2 separate regions of the Homo sapiens genome follow, and region 2 is linked to region 1. The links are contacts of gene promoters, found by promoter capture Hi-C in human tissues and cell types (Jung and others, 2019). All regions are on one chromosome and are shown on one strand. Each heading gives the region's core, a stretch centred on a gene start or on the middle of the fragment in contact. The rest is flanking DNA. Distances are from core to core; before and after follow the strand shown.

Evidence for each region. The method cuts DNA at HindIII sites, captures the fragments that hold promoters and counts their contacts. A contact is called where the count stands out against the background at its distance.
Region 2: a contact is called between a fragment that was not itself captured here and the fragment with the promoter of CBLN1 in region 1, in 2 of the 25 tissues and cell types used here (H1 embryonic stem cells and aorta).

Annotation. Positions count from the first base shown.
Region 1 is chr16:49,279,336-49,286,442 of GRCh38, forward strand. CBLN1 (cerebellin 1 precursor) reads right to left here and starts at 2,503. Exons shown (of 3, transcript NM_004352.4): 1 at 1,867-2,503; 2 at 1,588-1,707; 3 at 1-266. The coding sequence starts at 2,130. The coding sequence ends at 69. It overlaps SYNAGE (synapse stability regulating cerebellar lncRNA), which reads left to right and starts at 2,727. Exons shown (of 4, transcript XR_933530.4): 1 at 2,727-2,897. RefSeq lists an enhancer at 1,607-2,224 and silencers at 2,577-2,686, 3,057-3,156. The HindIII fragment of the contact is 18,550 bases long and covers 1-7,107 here.
Region 2 is chr16:49,228,701-49,235,807 of GRCh38, forward strand. No RefSeq gene overlaps it. Among named protein-coding and RNA genes, the nearest start is that of CBLN1, 50 kb to the right of the region's middle. The HindIII fragment of the contact is 3,786 bases long and covers 1,002-4,787 here.

The sequences.
Region 1 (7,107 bases), core at 1,253-3,752:
TTCAGCCTCTTTCTCACTCCCCTTCCTGCCTTCGCCCTCTCCCTGCCTCCCTTCCGGCTACGAGCCAGTCAGAGAGGAAACACCAGGAATCCGGAGAAGGTCGAGTACTTCCAGCCCCCCATCAAGTTTCCCCGCTCCAGCTTGAGGTATGCTCGGTCGCCTTTCTCCATTTGGATTAGGACTCCGTTGCTGGCGGCCTCCCGGGTCACGTCCTGGTCACCAGCGAAGGCTGAAATCACCGGCCACCCGTTTAGCATGAGGCTCACCTGAGAAAGAGAAAGGCCCGCTTCAGAGGCGCAACCTAGGCAGGCACCGAAGCCGCGGTGGAGCGAACCTCCTCCTTGCTTGGCTAACAGCCTGTAAGGCCTGGAAGCACGGAGAGGTGGGGGGTGGGGGGGGCGAATGGAGGAAAAGGGGCTTTGCAGCTTACTGCTGAGGCTCCAGTGGGGCGAAAGACCACACATCTGGGTGACAGGAAGGGCCTGTCCCCAAAACGGGAGTTGCTCTTATTCCAGTTTCTCAAATGAGCGCGCCAAGCGAATCTCGACTGTGCTCTGTGATCCAATTTAATAAACCCATGAGGTGGCTCTAGCGCCCTGAGACCTTTGACCTCTCTCCCGTTTCCCCTCAGCCTCAAAAAACAAACAACAAACAAAAAAAACCCAGCAACTCAGGCTCCTTCTGGCGCTACCGGAAAAACAAAAACGAACAAACAAAAAGCCCCTGATCCCTCCTGGACCCAGCTGCCAGGACACAGTGGAGAAGCCACTGTGATTTGTGATTAGAAGTCTCGCACCGAGCGGCACAATGTATTTCCTCCCCAAACCACGGGCTCAATTCCCTCCCCCATCCAGCCGCGCCCGCCACCGCCTGGTTTTGCCCCTGTGGTGGCACCGTCAGCCAAGGGCCTCGCGCCCTCTCCCCAGCTGTGCGTCCCACCTCTCTCGGCGCCCAAGGGAAACCTGGACATCTTTGGGGACCCGGAGAGCCGGCGAGTGATTGCTGGGACACGGCTGGAGCCGGGAGAGAGTAGCACTACGCCCCCTCCCTCCCTCCTCTCTCTACCCCTCACCCTCCGGGGCTAAATGCTGCTAGCTCAAAAACCCACAGTCCGCACGGGGTGGGGATTGGGGACAAGTGGGAGAAAACGGGGGCCCCGTCCGTGGTGCTGAAGACAAGCACGCAAGCCGCATCGCAGGCTTCTGAGCCGGGGCAAGGGGTAGGGTGTACTGTCGCGGTGCTTCCTGGGGAGTCCGGGAAGGCTTCCCAAGCGGCAGCTGTCTGGGGCGCTAACAACAGCCGTTACAAGGAAGTCCCTGAAATCCAGGGAACCCTTCGGAGAGGCCCGGAAGGCAGAAGCAGAAAATTCTGTCTCTCGGGGGATGGGGCTGGATCCCAAGAGCCAGAGACAGGGAAAGCAGAGGACAGTTGAAGCCACAGAACTGAGAGGCCCCGCTATCTGTCCCTCCAAGCAGCCCGAAGTACATGCAGCCGCCACTTCTGCCTACCACCTCCGGACAGCCCGAGCACCCCTGAGGCCAGTAACCCCCCTACGGGGCCAGGGCCCGGCACGAGGCGTCGGCTGACCTGTATGGTTTGTCTGTTGTAGACTTTTACCACGTGGAAGTTAAAACTGTAGATCCCTTTGCGCGGGGCGATGAAAGTGCTGCGTTCTGAATCAAAGTTGTTCCCAATGTTCACTAGTACCTATAACGAGACGGGAACGAAGGGGAGTGGGCAGGAATCGGTCCCGGACTGTCGTCCCCGCGCCTCCGCAGAGCCCTTGGAGAGGACCGGGCATCGGTCTTCCATCCATCCCTCCTTCACCAGCCCAATCTGCACGCCGCGGGAGGAAGGAACACTCACCTGGTCGAAGTAGATGATCATGGTGCGATTACTCATCTCGGACGGCTCGTGGTTGGTGCTCCTGATGGCAGAGAAAGCCACCTTGGCGCTGCCAGAGCGCACAGAGATGCCCAGGGCAGTGCCCGTGGGGTCGGACGTGGGGTTGGAGTCGCACACCACCAGGCACTTGCCCTCCAGCACGATGGGCTCCGTCTCATTCTGCCCGCGGGCCGGGCCCGCCAGCCACGCAGCCCCCAGCAGCAGCAGCTCCAGGACGCCCAGCATCGCGCCGCCGGCGCCCACCCCGCCCCCCACCCCCAGGGCTGCTCGCGCCAGCCGCCCCCCCCGTCCCAGTCCCGCTCCGAAGCCCCCTCCTCAGCTCCGTGCGCAGCTCCGCCGCCGCCGCTCTGGACACTACACCTCTTCCTCGCACTCCGGGACTAGCGTCCCCTCCGCGACTAGCGTCCCCTCCGCGCTGTGTTCCCGGAGCCCCTCCCGGGCCTCAGGGGTGCCGCGGCTGCCCAGCCGCACTTGGATGCATAGCCGCTGCTGCTCGGTCCCGCTGCTGCCGCCGCCTCCTGCCCGCACCCGCCGCTGCCGCCGCCGCCGCCGCTCTGAATTATTGATGCAGCCGGCGCTGCAGCCGGAGCGGGCGGAGAGCGCGCGCCGGGCACAAAGGCGCGGACCTCGGCCTGGCCCCGCCCCCGCCGCCTCCCGGCCCGCCTCCCTCCGAGGCCCTGCCCCCGCCCCGGCCGAGGCCACGCCCCCCAGCCAATCCTGACGCGCCGCGCTCCCCACCGAGCCAATGGCGGCGCTGTCCGCGCTCGGCCACCTGACCCCGGGCGCCGTTGTTATTAGGCGCGGCGAGGCGGGTGGCGCGCGGCAGCAGGGTTGGGCTCTCGCCGTGAGTCGACGAAGGGAGCGCGGGCGCGCGCCCGCGTCCGCGCACTGAGAGTCGCCTCGGCCGCTCGCTTTCTCGACTCCCGCCTCGCGCCTCGATCCTGTTCCGCCTCCCTCGGCCCTCCTGCCCGCCCCCACTCGTCGGCCCTCAGGTAGGAGGCGGCGCGCCCCGGGGTCGGGAGTGGAATCGCTGGAGGCTGCGAGTCGCCTGCCCGCCTGTGGGCGCGCCCGTTGGGAGGGGAGCGCCCCCCAGCGGGCGCGGGCGCGAGGGCAGCCGGCGCGCTGGGCGAGCCTGGCTCAGGGTCCCGGCGGCCGGGGTGCAGGGCGCGTGCGCGCGCGGCGGGGCGGGGCCTGCGCGGCTCTGGCGGGCGCACGTGGTGCCCGGGAGCTGCTGGGCGGGCACTCACCGCGGGGACTCGGTGCGGAGCCGGGGCGCCGAGTGTCTCCGTGTCCCTCTGCCCCAGCCGGCGGCCGCGATGGTGGAGCTTGGCCTCTCGCTCTCTCCCGCCTCTCCAGCGACTGCTCTGCCGGCCGCGGAGGTCGGATCGAGCGGTCATTCATTCATTTGTTAATTCGTTCACTTATTCAGGGGAGATCATTGAACCCCTACGGAGTACCGGGTACTGGGCCGGGCGCTGAGGACGCGGGGCTGAGCAAAAGCAGCCGAGGCCCACCTTCGTGCCCCTTAAAACCCAGCGTGCGGGGCGGCAACGAGTACTGCTTTTCTGTTTTGCACTTAAAATTTACATTTTGCATCCGTACTTTTTATTTACTGTGCACCCTTACGGCATGCTTTACGCACCCGTACCTGCACCTCCTAGCCTTGAGTGTAGACACCAGATCCTGAGATGGGCGATTTTTCGAGAATAATTTTTACCCTAAGTGGATTTTCGTGCCACGCATGGACTTGGAACTACACACACGTAGTCCAAAACGTGAAAGTCAAAATGCAGCTTTGCCAAGTGGCAGGGAGAAAGGAGAGCTGAGAAGATGAGGAGAGGAAGGGCGCGCTCCAGGCTTTCCAGCCCGGGTGCGGTAGACGTAGCCCTGAAGGATGAACCCAGGCTGGTAGTAGGGCGGCGGGAGGGCGGGGGGACCTGTCAGTCAAGTCCAAAGCAGAAACGCGGCGCCGGATCCCAGTCAGAGGCCGGCTGGAACGCTTCCCACAGGCTCCTGGCGCTCCGGTCCCCACCAGGCGACCTTGATCCTGGCGTGCTCAGCGGAGCCAGCGCAGCGTCGGGAGCTGGAGAGACGCGGGGCGCCGGCTGAGCGCTCCTGCCCTCTGCCTCTGGGCTAGCCTCTGGCCCGGCCTCCCGGCCTCCCCCAGGGTACGCTCTCCCCCAAGAGCGAACACCAGCTTTGGGATCGCCAGCAGCCACGTCTCTGCTTCTAGATCTCTTTTTTTTTTCTTTGAGACTTAGTTGATAGCTGTTTAAGGAATTATGTGGAGGAAATCTCACCTCCGACCCCCGCCCCCGTTGAGCACGGCCGGCCAGGGTCGCTGGGTGGGCCAGGAGGAAAGAAAGGGGCGGGGAAGAAGCAGCAATTTTACTTTAAATTAAAATGACACAAAAATATTTTTTCAACTCAGATCTTTCTGAGACATCCCCAGAAAGCGTTGCAAGCTGTGATTACACCTAATGTGAGAGCATGAACTAATTTAAGAGGTGAGAGCTGCATAATGAGGCTGCCTCCCGTGTAGCAGCCAAGACTGGCAGCTCTGGCGGCGCGCTGGAGGGGACCGGGAGGGGCACCCTTGTAGAACCAGTCCCTGGCGCCCTGGGATCTTCTCAGTGCCCTGGCGCTGTGTTGTCGGTCACTCCACAGATATTACAGGGTGCCTCCTGAATGCCGGGTTGCAATCAAGAGCAAGAGATGGGGCGAGTGAAAGAGCCTGTTTTCAGGAGCTCAGCATCAGGATGACGATTACCTAGAGGGAGGTGGTGGCCAGCCTCCCCCTCTTCTCTTCATGCTGAGGCTCTGGTGGGCAGTGCCCAAGCCTGAACTGCCATCTGTATGCCAGTGGTTACCCAACTTGTATTTTCAGTCTTAGCCTCTCTCTGGTCCAGACTTGTCATTCTAAGGGCCCTTTTTCACTGACTCACATTGTCTCCTCCCTCCCTGCCTTCCAAACTCAGCCTTTTCCTTTTTCCCTTTCCCACTGACAACAGCTGCACGACCCCCCCGCCCCCCCACGAGGTGAAAATTCCCAAGAACCCCATGTCTAACCTAACTCCCTCTCTATGTCCTGTTGCTTGAGCCATTCTCATTAGGCTGCCTGTTCGGAGTTCATTATCTCCTAATTTTTCATCCAGGAATTGATGAAGAATCACCTACTGCCTCTCCCACACACTGTTTATTCTTTCATTTGATGATATCTGTTAAGTGCCCTGAGATATGTAACCTCCACTTCCCTCCCATATAAGTGAGATTTCACGTTGATTACTTCCTTGGCTTTCCTCATCCCTTATCCACATAGCATGTGTTCAAAATAATGAATATTAATTTAATGTTAATAGATATGTGCTTTCCTGAATTGTGAGGATTAAATGAAATCATGTATATAGGGAGGAAAATCCATTAGAAACCTCAAAAGCAGTTATGTTTATTTTTGCTATTGTCACATTGTTAGAGTCAGAATTCTTTTAGCTGCAAGTGACAAAACCAACTCAAACTGGCTTAAGGACTTTATTGGTTGATGCAAAAAGCCTCGGGTTAGGTCTTGCCATTTAAGGTAGGGCTGGATCCATCAATCCGGGTTACCAGGATCTGTTTTCTAGTTGTGGCTTCATTTTCAGACAAGTTGTTTCCATATGATAGCCTCATAGAAGGTACTACCAGCTTAGTCCTAGCAAGAAAAAAGAGTACTTACTCTTCAATATTTGCAGCAGAAGTCCCAGGTCTGTTCTTATGAGGGCAGTTTGAGTCACTTGCTCTTCTCTGAACGTGGAGAAGGCACTGTTTAGATGATGGAGGTTGGATTCAGGTGCATCCCCTGGAATGGGGTTTGGCATTAGCTTCACGTGGTCTAGAATAAAGGGGTTCTCCAAAGGAAAATTAGGGTAGGAATGCTGAGTAAGCAGAACAAACAGATGTCTACTTTAGTCCTTCCCAAAGGGTGAGCTGCAATACATTGCAGACTATCAGAATGGTGATGAACACGGATGCAGTAGCCAAGAAAATAGATGTGTGTTTGTCGTGGTCTTTTTCAGTCTTCAAGATCTCAGTTAAACATGAAGTCAACCACTCACTATGATGTTATTTGAGGTTTAGCTTTGAAGTGGAAATGTACCACAAATAGTAGAGCCAGATAAATACAAATAAATAATTTTAACAGTCCATTCTAAAAGATTTCTTTGGTAATATTCTGTTGGAATTGATTTCTATCTTTTCATTTGTTAGGTTCCTGGAAAGTGAAAATTTCATTTCTTTGTGGACAGGTACCTAAAATGTCTCATTATTCATCAATTAATGAAAAACAAATGAAAATTTGAGAGAGATATTCTGAAGAATAAAAGGATCAAGTTGGGTCATTTCTAAAATGTAAGATTATAAGGTTTAACTTGCTAAGACTTTTGAGGGGTTGAATTATTGGTAAATTATTATAGAACCACTTATCTGAGGCTTTTAAAAGTGATGTGTTACAGAGATTTAGGGAACTGCAAGATTGCAGATAAAGAATTTATACTGTCAACTGTTCTATACTTTACCTTCTGCTTTAAATGCGGCCTTATATTTTGAAGTCAAACATTTATTTTCTCTCACTGCGTTCTGAATTTCCTACCACAGTGCATTTTGAGAAATGAATATAACAGCAGTCTTCATAGATGCCATATTCATGGCAACTCTGTCCCCCGCCAACACCACACCCTGGAAAAAAACCAACTTTCTATTGTTGGAATGAGGTAACATTTTCAGGAAAAGGGAACCATTTTCTCACAGGATATAGAACAAATTCAACCTTTTATTAAATCAAAATGGATTCTCTAATGTTTATACATATCATATAGGATTTCATCTCTTTCAATCTTGGTTCAAAGGCCCAGACAGTACCATTCCCTAGTATTTAGTCCATTTGCTCATAAAGCAGAAGAGAAAAGCTACTTTGTTCCGAAGGGTGTTAGATTTAGGATTCCAAGGTTATTTCAAATTAATGCCTGGAACTAGACTATAAAATGCAGGAAAGATTCTAAGTTGTTCAAAGATGAAATATCTTAACTTTCACCAAAAACTCTGTCTTCTGGGTATTTTTTGTTTTTCTGCCTTTCCAGATTTATTTTAAATACAACATTTTTGCTGTTTACATTTTTAAAAGTTACATTTCAAAATTGTTCATAATTGGACACTTTCATAAAATGTAGG
Region 2 (7,107 bases), core at 1,645-4,144, 50 kb before region 1:
TTGAAAAGAGTAGTGGCTCTCCCAGCACAGAGTTTGAGATCTGAGAATGGATAGACTGCCTCCTCAAGAGGGTCCCTGATCCCCAAGTAGCCTAACTAGGAGGCACCTCCCAGAAGGGGCCAACTGACACCTCATACAGCCTGGTGTCCCTCTGAGATGAAGCTACCAGAGGGAGGATCAGGCAGCAACATTTCCCATTCTGCAATATTTGCCATTCTGCAGCCTCCACTGGTGATACCCAGGCAAACAGGGTCTGGAGTGGAACTCCAGCAAACTCCAACAGACCTGCAGCTGAGAGTCTTGACTGTTAGAAGGAAAACTAACAAACAGAAAGGACATCCACACCAAAGTCCCACCTGCACGTCACCATCATCAAAGACCAAAGGTAGATAAAACCACAAAGATGGGGAGAAACAAGAGCAGAAAAGCTGAAAATTCTAAAAATCAGAGCGCCTCTTCTCCTCTAAAGGAATGCAGCTCCTTGCCAGCAACGGAACAAAGCCGGACAGAGAATGACTTTGATGAGTTGAGAGAAGAAGGCTTCAGATGATCAGTAATAACAAACTTCTCCGAGCTAAAGGAGGATGTTCGAACCCATCACAAAGAAGCCAAAAGCCTTGAAAAAAGATTAGATGAATGGCTAATTAGAATAAACAGCATAGAAAAGACCTTCAATGAACTGATGGAGCTGAAAACCATGGCACGAGAACTACGTGATGCATGCACAAGCTTCAGTAGCTGATTCGATCAAGTGGAAGAAAAGGTATCAGTGATTGAAGATCAAATGAATGAAATGAAGCCAGAAGAGAAGTTTAGAAAAAAAAAGAGTAAAAAGAAAGGAACAAAGCCTCCAAGAAATAAGGAACTATGTGAAAAGACCAAATCTATATCTGAATGGTGTACCTGAAAATGACAAGGAGAATGGAACCAAGTTGGAAAACACTCTTCAGGATATTATCCAGGAGAACTTCCCCAACCTAGCAAGGCAGGCCAATATTCAAATTCATGAAATACAGAGAATTCCGCAAAGATACTCCTTGAGATGAGCAACTCCAAGACACATAATTGTCAAATTCACCACAGTTGAAATGAAGGAAAAAATGTTAAGGGCAGCCAGAAAGAAAGGTCTGGTTACCCACAAAGGGAAGCCCATCAGACTAACAGCAGATCTCTCAGCAGAAACTCTACAAGCCAGAATAGAGTGGGGGCCTATATTCAGAATTCTTAAAGAAAAGAATTTTCAACCCAGAATTTCACATCCAGTCAAGCTAAGCTTCATAAGTGAAGGAGAAATAAAATCCTTTACAGACAAGCAAATGCTGAGAGATTTTGTCGCCACTAGGCCTGCCCTACAAGAGCTCCTGAAGGAAGCACTAAACATGGAAAGGAACAACAAGTACCAGCCACTGGAAAAACACGCCAAATTGTAAAAACCATCGATGCTAGGAAGAAACCGCATCAACTAACGAGCAAAATAACCAGCTAACATCATAATGACAGGATCAAATTCACACGTAACAATACCAACCTTAAATTTAAATGGGCTAAATGCTCCAATTAAAAGACACAGACTGGCAAATTGGATAAAGAGTCAAGACCCATCAGTATGCTGTATTCAGGAGACCCATCTCACATGCAGAGACACACATAGGCTCAAAATAAAGGGATGGAGGAAGATCTACCAAGCAAATGGAAAACAAAAAAAAGCAGGGATTGCAATCCTAGTCTCTGATAAAACAGACTGTAAACCAACAAAGATCAAAAGAGACAAAAAAGGCCATTACATAAAGGTAAAGGGCTCAATTCAACATGAAGAGCTAACTATCCTAAATATATATGCACCCAATACAGGAGCATCCAGATTCATAAAGCAAGTCCTTAGAGACCTTCAAAGAGACTTAGACTCCCACACAATAATAATGGGAGACTTTAACACCCCACTGTCAACATTAGACAGATCAACGAGACAGAAGGTTAACAAGGATATTCAGGAATTGAACTCAGCTCTGCATCAAGCAGACCTAATAGACATCTACAGAATTCTCCACCCCAAATCAACAGAATGTACATTCTTTTCAGCACCACATTGCACTTACTCCAAAATTGACCACATAGTTTGAAGTAAAGCACTCCTCAGCAAATGTAAAAGAACAGAAATTATAACAAACTGTCTCTCAAACCACAGCGCAATCAAACTAGAACTCAGGGTTAAGAAGCTCACTCAAAACTTCTCAGCTACATGGAAACTGAACAACCTGCTCCTGAATGACTACTGGGTACATAATGAAACGAAGGTAGAAATAAAGGTGTTCTTTGAAACCAATGAGAACAAAGACACAACATATCAGAATCTCTGGGACACATTTAAAGCAGTGTGTAGAGGGAAATTTATAGCACTAAATACCCACAAGAGAAAGCAGCAAAGATCTAAAATTGACACCCTAACATCACAATTAAAAGAACTAGAGAAGCAGGAGCAAACATATTCAAAAGCTAGCAGAAGGGAAGAAATTACTAAGATCAGAGCAGAACTGAAGGAGATAGAGACACAAAAAACCCTTCAAAAAATCAATGAATCCAGGAGCTGGTTTTTTGAAAAGATCAACAAAATTAATAGACCGCTAGCAAGGCTAATAAAGAAGAAAAGAGAGAAGAATCAAATAGACACAATAAAAAATGATAAAGGGGATATCACCACCAATCCCACACAAATACAAACTACCATCAGAGAATATTATAAACACCTCTACACAAATAAACTAGAAAATCTAGAAGAAATGGATGAATTCCTGCACACATACGCCCTCCCAAGACTAAACCAGGAAGAATTTGAATCCCTGAATAGACCAATAACAGGCTCTGAAATTGAGGCAATAATTAATAGCCTACCAACCAAAAAAGTCCAGGACCAGATGGATTCACAGCTGAATTCTATCAGAGGTACAAACAAGAGCTGGTACCATTCCTTCTGAAACTATTCCAATCAGTAGAAAAAGAGGGAATCCTCCCTAACTCATTTTATGAGGCCAAAATCATCCTGATACCAATGCCTGGCAGACACACCACACAAAAAACAAAATTTTAGGCCAATATCCCTGATGAACATCAATGCAAAAATCCTCAATAAAATACCGGCAAACCGAATCCAGCAGCACATCAAAAAGCTTATCCACCACGATCAAATTGGCTTCATCCCTGGGATGCAAGGCTGGTTCAACACACACAAATCAATAAACGTAATCCATGATATAAACAGAACCAAAGACAAAAACCACATGTTTATCTCAATAGCTGCAGTAAAGGCCTTTGACAAGATTCAACAGCCCTTCATGCTAAAAACTCTCAATAAACGAGGTATTGATGGGACGTATCTCAAAATAATAAGAGCTATTTATGACAAACCCACAGCCAATATCATACTGAATGGGCAAAAACTGGAAGCATTCCCTTTGAAAACTGGCACAAGACAGGCATGCCCTCTCTCACCACTCCTATTCAACATAGTGTTGGAAGTTATGGCCAGGGCAATCAGGCAGGAGAAGGAAATAAAGGGTATTCAATTAGGAAAAGAGGAAGTCAAATTGTCCCTGTTTGCAGATGACATGATTGTATATTTAGAAAACCCCATCATCTCAGCCCAAAATCTCCTTAAGCTGATAAGCAACTTCAGCAAAGTCTCAGGATACAAAATCAATGTGTAAAAATCACAAGCATTCCTCTACACCAATAATAAGCAAACAGAGAGCCAAATCATGAGTGAACTCTCATTCACAATTGCTTCAAAGGGAATAAAAAACCTAGGAATCCAACTTACAAGGGATGTGAAGGACTTTTTCAAGAAGAACTACAAACCACTGCTCAACAAAATAAAAGAGGACACAAACAAATGGAAGAATGTTCCATGCTTATGGATAGGAAGAATCAATATTGTGAAAATGGCCATACTGCCCAAGGTAATTTATAGATTCACTGCCATCCCCATCAAGCTACCAATGTCTTTCTTCACTGAATTGGAAAAAAACAACTTTAAAGTTCATATGGAACCAAAAAAGAGCCTGCATTGCCAAGACAATCCTAAGCCAAAAGAACAAAGCTGGAGGCATCATGCTACCTGACTTCAAACTGCACTACAAGGCTACAGTAACCAAAACAGCAAGGTACTGGTACCAAAGCAGAGATATAGACCAATGGAACAGAACAGAGCCCTCAGAAATAATAACACACATCCACAACCATCTGATCTTTGACAAACCTGACAAAAACAAGAAATGGGGAAAGGATTCCCTATTTAATAAATGGTGCTGAGAAAACTGGCTAGCCATATGTAGAAAGCTGAAACTGGATCCTTTCCTTACACATTATACAAAAATTAATTCAAGATGGATTAAAGACTTAAATGTTAGACCTAAAACCATAAAAACCCTAGAAGAAAACCTAGGCAATACCATTCAGGACATAGACATGGGCAAGGACTTCATGTTTAAAACACCAAAAGCAATGGCAACAAAAGCCAAAATTGACAAATGGGATCTAATTAAACTAAAGAGCTTCTACACAGCAAAAGAAACTACCATCAGAATGAACAGGCAACCTACAGAATGGGAGAAAATTTTTACAATCTACCCATCTGACAAAGGGCTAATATCCAGCATCTACAAATAACTTAAACAAATGTACAAGAAAAAATCAAACAACCCCATCAAAAAGTGGGCAAAGGATATAAACAGACACTTTTCAAAAGAAGACATTTATGCAGCCAACAGACACATGAAAAAATGCTCATCATCACTGGCCATCAGAGAAATGCAAATCAAAACCACAATGAGATACCATCTCACACCAGTTAGAATGGTGATTATTAAAAAGTCAGGAAACAACAGGTGCTGGAGAGGATGTGGAGAAATAGGAACACTTCTACACTGTTGGTGGGACAGTAAACTAGTTCAACCATTGTGGAAGATAGTGTGGTGATTCCTCAAGGATCTTGAACTAGAAATACCATTTGACCCAGCTATCCCATTACTGGTATATAACCAAAGGATTATAAATCATGCTGCTATGAAGACACATGCACTCATATGTTTATTGTGGCACTATTCACAATAGCAAAGACTTGGAACCAACCCAAAAGTCCATCAATGATAGACTGGATTAAGAAAATGTAGCACATATACACCATGGAATACTATGCAGCCATGAAAAAGGATGAGCTCATGTCCTTTCTAGGTACATGGATGAAGCTGGAAACCATCATTCTGAGCGAGCTATCACAAGGACAGAAAACCAAACACCACATGTTCTCACTCATAGGTGGGAATTGAACAATGAGAACACTTGGACACAGGGTGGGGAACATCACACACTGGGGCCTGTCATGGGGTGTGGGGAGGGGAGAGGGAGAGCATTAGGAGATACACCTAATGTAAATGATGAGTTAATGGATGAAGCACACCAACATGGCACATGTATACATATGTAACAAACCTGCACGTTGCACTCGTGTACCCTAAAACTTAAAGTATAACAAAAAAAGAAAGATAAAAAAAGATAAGTCAGGCTGGACATGGTGGCTCGTCTCTGTAATCCCAGTGCTTTGGGAGGCCTAGGCAGGAGGATCACTTGAGGCCCGGTGTTTGAGACCAGCCTGGGCAACATAGCAAGACCCATCTCTACAAAAAAAATTAAAAATTAACAGGGCATGGTGGCAGGCATCCCAGCTACTTGGCAGGCTGAGGTAGGGGAATTGCTTGAGCCTGGAAGTTTGAGGTTCCAGTGAGATGTGATTGCACCTCTGTACTCCGGCCTGGGTGACAGAGTGAAACTCTGCCCTAAACATAAAAATAAAAACAAATAAATCAGAGGTTCTCATTCTCTTGTTTAGAACCCTATAGTAGATTCCTATTGAGATTAGAACAAAATTCAAATTCTGTAGCCTGTGTCTTCAGGTACTGCAAGATGTTCTTTGTCTTCCTTTCAACTTCATATCCCACTTGTCTTAGTTCATTCCAGCTACTGTAACAAAAATACCAGAAATTAGGTGGCTTATTAAAAAAGGAAACTATTATAGTTCTAGAGGCAGGGAAGCCCACAATCAAGGCACTTGTTGGTTCCGTTTTTGGTGAGGGCCTATACCTCATGGATGGTGCCTTCTAGCTGCGTCCTCACATGGCCAAAAGGGCAGGCAGACTCTCTCCTATATAACAGCATCCATCTCATGGATGATGGCTCCACTCTCATGACCTAATCCCCTCCTAAAGGACCCATCTTTAATACTACTGCATTGGGGATTAGGTTTCAACCTATGAAATTTTGAGGGGACACAAAGATTCAGACCATAGCACCACCTCCTTTCTCCTCATTTTTTATGCTCCTGCCATATTGGTCTTCTTCCTGCTCTTCCACAAGCCAAGCTTATTCCTGCCCCAAGAGTTTTGCACTACTGTTACCTTTACCTAAAATCTCCCAAATGCCTGCAAATAATTCAGGTCTCATACATTCTCTTTAGGAGACTTTCATGACCACCCAAGCCTCTTACCACTCCTGGGAGTTACCTTCTACTCTGTTACTTTTTGCAGGACTTATCCCAAGCAACAATTCTCTTTATTGATTTGCTTATCTGTTTTCTTTATTTGTAATATGGGATAATAATAGCACCCAGTTTATTGGGTTTAATGAGGAATAAGATAACAAAATTAAAGTACTTAGCCCAAGTATCTGTCTATATAATAAGTGAGCAAAAACCAGCAGTTATTGCTGCTATCATCATCATCTCCTTCAAGTAAAGTAAAAGGTATAGGGGTTGGGAGAAATAAAATAATCTCTCTGGCTTTTCCAAGCCTTGATTCTGTGATTCTAGAATTTCTCCAGACCAGCCAATCTCTCGACCTCTACTTGGGGCTGAGACAGTGCCCTCTAGAATCCTGCAGATTTGCCACCTTGAGCCCTCCTTTTCAGAGACCAGAGCCAGCCACCTGTCCCTGAAAACTCAATGCTTTCCTTAAAACTGCCCCGCAGAAACACAGACATGGGCATACACACTCACAGGCTCACACCTGCTCTTGGAATCCTGCTTAGCTTTCAAAGGAAGGAAAAAAGTTGTTCATGTTG